Linked DNA regions of Homo sapiens: regions 1 and 2 are each linked to region 3. The links are contacts of gene promoters, found by promoter capture Hi-C in human tissues and cell types (Jung and others, 2019). All regions are on one chromosome and are shown on one strand. Each heading gives the region's core, a stretch centred on a gene start or on the middle of the fragment in contact. The rest is flanking DNA. Distances are from core to core; before and after follow the strand shown. Region 1 overlaps KIAA1217. Region 2 overlaps DNAJC1 (DnaJ heat shock protein family (Hsp40) member C1). Region 3 holds the start of MSRB2 (methionine sulfoxide reductase B2).

Region 1 (2,700 bases), core at 92-2,591, 1.2 Mb after region 3:
ATCTTGGCTCACAGCAACCTCTGCCTCCTGGGTTCAAGTGATTCTCCTGCCTCAGCCTCCCAAGTAGCTGGGATTACAGGAGCCCGCCACCATGCCCAGCTAATTTTTGTATTTTTTAGTAGACACAGGGTTTCACCATGTTGGCCAGGCTGGTCTCGAACTCCTGACCTCAAGCCATCCACCTCCCTCGGCTTCCCAGAGTGCTGGGATTACAGGCATGAGCCATGACACCCGGCCTGTAATTTTCTTTAAAGACTGCCACTGGGTGGAACCCACTGGGCCCAGTGAGAACTACGGAAAAGAGACCCATTCTTGCCCTCATTGTTAGTGTCCACATCCGGATTTACCTAAACCCCACCCAGGTGGCATTTGCATAGTAATGAAAAACCGGTATTTTCTAGCTGTGAATCACACTTCAAATCCTGAGCGGCTGACTGTCAGGGGTGCGTCAGGCCTGCTTGCTGGGAGAATGGACGAGCTGGTTGTGGAGCGGGCGGGTCCCGCCACCCGTGGGCTCAGCACTGGACTGCTCCCAGAACATTAAAGGTCTGGCTGATGTTCCATGCCACATCTGGACATGAAGACCCATGTCTGCCCTTCTGTAGAAGGGCCAAAGAAGAAAGGAGGCATCACATGTTTCTGCTGTGGGGGGCCCTTCCGAGCAGCAGACAGGAGCAAGGTACAGGAGTGGCCTGATTCTGGGGTTTCCCTGCCCCCCCTGGGGTCCCTAAACTGCTGTGTGATATGTTTCTAACTATCTGGACAGCTCACCCAAGAGTCAGTTGTTCCCAGTCGCTTCTTGCTGAGGATAAGCCAAAAGAGGGCCGGGGGCCAATCTGGTTTCTTTCAAGTGAAATTATGCTTCTCAAGCAGAGAATGATTGCCCACAGCAGTTAAACCTTGTTTAATGGTAATTAAATTGCTTTTCTTCACTTTGAAAAATCTCTTAATTTTCTGTACAAAGGCAGGAAGCATTTTTCTTTGATTCTACAGGATGTTTCTAAGTATGGTGTAATCAGTTCATCTTACCTTGCCGGGCTCTGAAAGAATGAGTGTGTGGGATCAGATTTAGAAATGCCTCAAAGGTTAGAAAGCCGAGTGCTGCCGATTAACTCAAGCTCAGATGACCAAAAAAAAAAAAAAAAAAAAAAAGCTGCTTTTCCCCTCACTTCTCCCTCTGGTTCTGCCTCAGTACTTTGCTTAGGAGTTTCTAAAAGCAGGCACAGTTGCCTGCGGGGCTGGTGTGTGTCACCTTCGCAAAGTGCAGATGAGGTCTGGCATGTCCCATCTTGTTCCTGCCTGACTACAACTCTGCACACAGACAGTGTTGATCTGGCTTGGAGCCCATAGTGGCAATCCTTGGAGTGGAGGCAGCAGAGATCTCAGTTCTTCCTAGTGCTTGAGAAGTTAACTAACTGTCTTTCCCATGAGGAAAATGTTTTGAGACTGTAGAAGCAGAGAAGAGACTTCGCCAAAGCCCATAGAAAATAAAAAGCAAACCCTCAAGCATGAAAATCCCTGGCCCTGGAGTAAGTGCAGGTGATAAGGCTTGCTATCTGATGCCTCATTCCATGTCTCTGGCTTCCCATTGCCTAAATTAAGATGTCCTGAAAGAAACCTTGGGAAAAAAAAAGCACAGTCCCCACATTTGAAGTAGAAATAGAATTAAGGAGAAATTGTGATTTTCCTGAAGGAACAGAACCAACACTGGTTTTCAAAAGCCTTAGTTTTACATTTTAGTAGAAACTGTTAGCAGTAGGAGGATTTGCTTTGTGTGTGTGTGTGTCTGTCTGCTTTGCCTTATTTTGGTTCTGACCATACCACTGCTATCTCAGTCTTAGAGGCTGATTTTGTGGCCCAGAGTGTTTCGTTCAGATATCTTTGTGTTGAGGTGATATTGAGCCAGCAGCCAAAGAAATGCATGGCCAAGATATGGAATATCTGGTCAACAGAGAATAACAACAAAGTGGGACGCATCATAAGGTCATAGGTCAGTGAAAACAGCTGCTAGCCATTTATATGCAGGAGAGAAAGAAGGCCCAGGGAGTTGGAAAGACTGAAGGTATTTTGGACTGAGCAGAGCAAAGGGATTTGGGGACATATAAATGTATGAAACAAGATGGTCAGGAAAACAATTTTTTTCAAAGGTAGCATGAATAGAGTGAGGTAAGGAAACCCATGGCCATGGTACTGGTGGCCTAATGGGAAAAGGCAGTGTAATGACTTCTACATGGAGACTTCAGTTCTGCCCCTCGTACTGTTGAAGAATATTCTGTCCAGAGAGGCTCTTCAGTTTCTACCTGGTTTTCTAATGGCTTTAAAAAACTTTGGTGTATTGGGGGAATGGAAACAAAGATATTTACTAGAGAAGTGTTTGGCAAAAAGTGCCAAGCTTATTCCTGAGAAAGGATGGAACGGCGTGGGGGGTGGAGGGAGGGTTGGAACCATACTCCAAATTCCCCTGAGGCCCACACGTGTTCACCAGACATCTGTGGGGAGCCCGGATGAGATGTGGGGCCCTTCCCCTTTCTCATTTTCTTTTTTACTTTTAGATCCTGGATCAAAATGAGTCCTTGATTCCCTCATCCCATCCCAGGACCCTTTTTTAGTTGCATTACCACCTAGTGAAGTCTACCAAGTCTTGATTTGAGAATCAAAACAAACTCAGATCAAAGTCAACCTCAGGGAATCAGAGAACAC
Region 2 (2,793 bases), core at 150-2,649, 1.3 Mb before region 3:
TTTAAGAGGATTCCCATTAGATTTCTCCAGAGAAACCTTGCAAGCTACAAAAGAATGAAACAATGTATTCAATAAATTGCCAAAAAAAAAAAAGCCACCAAAGAATACTGTACCCAGCAAAACTATCTTTCAGAAATGAGAAAGAAAATCTTTCCCAGACAAGCAAAAACTAAGAGAATTCATCACCACTACATTGGCCTTACAAGAAATGCTCAAGGAAGTCCTGCATCTGGCAGCAAAAAGATGATAATCACCATCATGAAAACACTCAAAAGTATAAAATTCACTGTTATAGCAAATACACAAAGCAGAAAAAGGATCAAATCTTAATATTACAGAAAACCACCAAACCACAATGACATGAGAGGAAGAAAGGAAAAAAAGATACCTAAAACAACAAGAAAACAATGAACAAAATGACAGGAGTAAGTCCTCATTTATCAATAATAACCTTGAATATGAACAGATTAAATTCTTCACTTAAAAGATATAGACTGGCAAAATAAAATTTTTAAAAATATGAGTCAACTATACTATATGCTACGTATAAGAAATTCACTTCACTTATAAAGACACATACAGACTGAAAGTAGAGGAAGAAAAAAGATACTCCATGCAAAAGGAAAACAAAAGTGAGAAGACATAGCTATATTTATATCATATAAAACAGACTTTAAGTGAAAAGCTGCAAAAAGAGACAAAAAAGGTCATTATATGATGATAAAAGGATCAATTCAGCAAGATGTGAATATATATGCACAGTTGTGAATATATATGCACCCAACATTGGAGAAACCAGATACATAAAAGCAAATATTATTAGATCTAAAGGGAGAGATAGACTCCAATACAACAACAGTTGGGAACTTTGACACCCCACACTCAGCAGTGGACAGATCATTCAGACAGGAAATCAACAACAAGAAAACACTGAATTTGAATTGCATCTTAGACCAAATGGAACTAACAGACATTTACAGAACACTTCATCCAACAGCTACAGAATACACATTCTTCTCATCAGCTCATGGAACATTCTCCAGGACAGACCACATGTTACGCCACAAAACAAGTCTCAACAAATTTTTAAAAAGTAGAAATCATATCAAGTATCCTCTCTGACCACAGTGAAACAAAACTAGAAATCAATACCAAGGGAACTTTCAAAACCATACAAATATATGAAAATTAAATGTGCTCCTGAACGACCAATTGGTCAATAAAAAAATTTAAAAGAAAATTAAAAACATTCTTGAAACAAACGAAATTAAAAACACAACAAATCAAAATCTACTGAATACAGAAAAAGCAATATTAGAGGCAAGATTATAGCCATAAACAAGGAGAAAGATTTCAAATAAATAACCTAATGATGCATTTCAAGGACTAGAAAAGCAAGAAACCAAACCCAAAGTTAGCAGAAAGAAAGGAATAATAGAGTTCAGAGTAGAAATAAAATTGAAACTGAAAAAACCATACCAAAGATCAATGAAACAAAAAGTTGATTTTTTGAAAAGATCAACAAAATTGATAAACCGTTAGCTTAGCGTAACCAAAAGAAATGAAAAACATGGATAGTTCACCCATCATTAAAGAAATGAAATCTGTGGTCAAAAAAAAATCTTCTTTGGAGAGAATATCAGCCACACTTTTATTATTCAAGCACTTTCAGAGCACAACCGCTGATGTGAATGAAATGAATAAATCCCTAGAAATTACTAAAATTTAATCAAGAAGAAATAGAAAATCTGAATAGACCCGTAATAACTTAAAAACAAATGAATTAGTAACTAAAAGTCTTCCCATAAAGAAAAGCCAAGGCCTAGCTGGCTTCACTGGTGAATTCTATCAGATACTCAAAGAAGATATAATAACAATTGTTCACAAACTTTCAGAAATTAGGGGAGGAAGGAACACTTTCTATTTATTCTATGAGGCTAGCATTACCCTGATATCAAAGCCAGACAAAGACATCACAAGGAAACTATAGACCATTCGCTCTCATGAACAAAGAAACAAAAATCCATAATTACTAGCTAACCTTGACCGGGTGTGGTGGCTTATGCCTGGAATCCCAGCACTTTGGGAGGCTGAGGTGGGCGGATCACTTGAGGTCAGGAGTTTCTGACCATCCTGGCCAACATGGTGAAACCCTGTCTCTACTGAAAATACAAAAAAGTTAGCCAGGCATAGTGGCAGGCGCCTGGAATCCCTGCTGCTCTGGAGGCTCAGGCAGGAGAATTGCTTGAACCCGGGAGGCAGAGGTTGCAGTGAGCTGAGATCGTGCCACTGCTCTCCAGCCTGGGTGACAGAGTGAGACAACACCTCAAAAAAAAAAAAAAAAAAATTAGCTAACCAAATCCAGCACCATATAAAATGTATATACAACATGATCAAGTGGGAATGTAAGGTTGGTTTAACATCCAAAGATCAATTTATATACTATGCCATATTAATAAAACACAGGATAAAAATCATGTGATCATCTCAATAGATGAAGCAAAATCATGTGACAAAATCCAATGTCTATTCATGATAAAAATGCTCAAGCTAGAAATAGAAGGGAAGTTCCTTAGATAAAAAGCTTCTATGAGCCTGGGCACGGTGGCTCATGCCTATAATCCCAGCATTTTGGGAGGCCAAGGAGGGCAGATCATCCGAGGTCAGGAGTTCAAGACCAGTCTGGCCAACGTGGTGAAACCCTGTATCTACTAAAAATAGAAAAATTAGCTGGGCGTGGTGGTGAATGCCTGTAATCCCAGCTACTTGGGAAGCTGAGGCAGGAGAATCACT
Region 3 (2,700 bases), core at 189-2,688:
AACAACTGGATATAGATATGCAAAAAACAAAACAGATAAACAAAACAAAACAAAAATTTTGGCCATATATAAAAATTCTAAATCGGTCAGAGACCTAAATGTAAAACCTAGAACTATAAAAATTTTAGAACAAAACATAGGAGAGAATCTTTGTGATCTTGGATTAGGCAAAGATTTCTTAAATATGATACCAAAAAAAGAACAATCCATTAACAAATTGATAAATTGGGCTTCATCAAAATTAAAAACTGCTCTTCCCAAGACAATATTAGGAGACAGAAAAGACAAACAAGAGACTGGGAAAAAAAATCTTTGTAAAGCATATGTTTGATAAAAGATTTGCATCCAAAATATATAAAGTGTTCTAAGCTCAATAATGAAACAACTCAACATTAAATGGGCAAAAGATCTGAACGGACACTTCACCAAGGAAAATACACTCGCTGCAAATACGCACATGAAAAGATGCTTAACATCATTAACGATTAGAGAATGCATAATAAAGCCACAATGAGCTACCACTACACAGAACCGGAACATCTACAGTTAAAATCTCTGGACTTTCAAGTGTTGGCAAGGATGAAGAACAACTGGAACTCGCATAGACTGCTAGTGGGAAGGTAAAGAAAAAAACCACTTGGGAAAACAGTATAGTAGTTTCTTAAATGGTTACACCTACCTTACGACCTGGGCATTCCACTTCCAGGTATTTACCCCAGAGAGGAAAAACCGTATATGTCTGTACAAAGATTTGCACAGGGATGTTCCTAGCAGCTGTAGTTCTAATCAGGAAAAATTGAAAGCAGGCTAAATCAAGTGCTGACTAAACACACGGTGGTATATCCATAAATGGAATACTGCTCAGGAAGCAATGAATGATTGTTCCATGCAAAAACACGCAGGCATGTCAAAGTAACTATGTTGAGTGAAAGAAGCCAGACAAAATCAAGTACATATGGGATGATTCCATTTATGGACGACTCTAGAAAATGCAAACTAAAACAGATCAGTGTTTGGGCTGCGGATGAGTGGAGTTGGGATAGGTGGAGGGGGGCAGGGCGAGGGAGGAGCAGGAGTGGGAGGAGCTGGGAGATGCAGAGATGGGTTGGGGAGGGTCTCATGGAAGGGAAGGGAGAGAGGAAGGGGGAGAGGAAGGGGGAGGAAAGGCAAGGGGAAAAGGAGAGGAAGAGGGAGGGGGAGAGAGAGGCAGAGTGGGAGGAAAGAGGGGCGGGGACCTGGGAGGGCCCAGGGCACATAGTGGGAGGAGCAGGTGGGAAGGAGGGAAGGAGGGAGGGGCAGGGGAGGGAGAAGAGGGGGAGGGAGACGAGGGGACTGGCGGTGTGGGCGGAGCGTGGGGAGGGAGGCCGACTAGCGCAGGCGGACGGGAGAGAATGGGGGAGGGGTGGGATGGGAGCAGGGGCAGAGACGGGCAGAGGGCAGAGGGCGGAGCGGCGCCGGAGCGGGCGTCATGGCGCGGCTCCTCTGGTTGCTCCGGGGCCTGACCCTCGGAACTGCGCCTCGGCGGGCGGTGCGGGGCCAAGCGGGCGGCGGCGGGCCCGGCACCGGGCCGGGACTGGGGGAGGCAGGTAGGACGCGGGTCCCGCAGGCCCCGCCGCCGCCTACGGCTTTCGGCTTCATTTCACCGGCTGCACCCGGGAGCCTAGGGCCGGTCCAGGCCGGGCGCTGCCCTCCTACTAAGCCCTCCTCGGCGCGCCCCTCCCCCCCCCCAGCCCGAGGATCTGGGACAGTGGATTGTAAACTTGGTGGCGGCAGGGTGGGGACTGACCCCTGTGAGAATCCGAGGAAATGAACAAATGATCCCCCTAAATGTGCGCATAATTTTTTTTTTCTTGGCTCGGGGAGTGGGGGCATAAGTGGGGCTCGGGGGCCTCTGACCCCTATCGGGGACTCCAGGCGAAGGCCCGGGGCCTGGGCTGTAGCAGCCCGGCCCGCGCGCCCCTGCGAAGGCCCCTAGTATTTTGCATTGCAGCCCTCTTCGTAGTTCCGCGGGCTTCCTTCCAGCATCTGAGAAGCAGGCAGTTCAGACTTGGGGTTCCTGTGAGTGTTTCCTGCCCTGCTGACTTCCCATAAATGTGTCTAAGAGCCAGGGAGACTGGGTTGATCATTTGTTCCTTCTTTAAGGTGACAGCCATTGTTAATGACTGAGACAGAGACCAGGGCGAGCCTGTGTGTGTGTGTCTCTCTCTCTCTCTGTGTGTGTGTGTGTGTGTGTTTCTGCTAAATACTTTTGGATCCTCTCTTGGATCTGGGTACCTGCACATTTCACCAAGCAGGAAGGAGTCACCTCGGGAGACCTGTGCCAGCTACCCCTGTATTTCAGTTCTATTTCAGGGTAACTTAGTGCCCCAGGGGATTGGCTTCCTGGGCGGTTGCCAGACTGACCCACTCTGAATCCAATTTTATATGTGTTCATTGAAGACATTCAGAGATACCCAACTGATGAAAATGTACCAACTCATTCTGAGCTCTTTTTAGCCCCTGAAGTTTTCGAAATGCAATATTGAAAGAATACGTAACTAAATAAAAGCGTTGGCGTTGTGGAATGTTAGCTCATCCAACTTGACTTCCAGCTATGGCCTTTCTAATCACTGGTGTCTCTAGTCAGTCTGATGACATTTGCTGTGAGCCTACTGTGTGCCAAGCATTGTATTGCTGAGAACCACAGGTGATAGAAACAGG

What was found. The method cuts DNA at HindIII sites, captures the fragments that hold promoters and counts their contacts. A contact is called where the count stands out against the background at its distance.
Region 1: a contact is called between a fragment that was not itself captured here and the fragment with the promoter of MSRB2 in region 3, in 1 of the 25 tissues and cell types used here (mesenchymal stem cells).
Region 2: a fragment that was not itself captured here is called in contact with the fragment with the promoter of MSRB2 in region 3 in 1 of the 25 tissues and cell types used here (lymphoblastoid cells).

What each region holds. Positions count from the first base shown.
Region 1 is chr10:24,254,918-24,257,617 of GRCh38, forward strand. All of the region lies in intron 2 of KIAA1217, which reads left to right. Among named protein-coding and RNA genes, the nearest start is that of MIR603, 19 kb to the right of the region's middle. The HindIII fragment of the contact is 4,955 bases long and covers 1-2,700 here.
Region 2 is chr10:21,790,431-21,793,223 of GRCh38, forward strand. The region is part of intron 9 of DNAJC1 (DnaJ heat shock protein family (Hsp40) member C1); the gene reads right to left. Among named protein-coding and RNA genes, the nearest start is that of DNAJC1, 210 kb to the right of the region's middle. The HindIII fragment of the contact is 6,292 bases long and covers 1-2,793 here.
Region 3 is chr10:23,094,141-23,096,840 of GRCh38, forward strand. It overlaps MSRB2 (methionine sulfoxide reductase B2), which reads left to right and starts at 1,439. Exons shown (of 5, transcript NM_012228.4): 1 at 1,439-1,586. The coding sequence starts at 1,469. It overlaps LOC107984215 (a long non-coding RNA gene), which reads right to left and starts at 1,139. Exons shown (of 3, transcript XR_001747394.2): 1 at 680-1,139. RefSeq lists a silencer at 1,247-1,716. The HindIII fragment of the contact is 14,874 bases long and covers 1-2,700 here.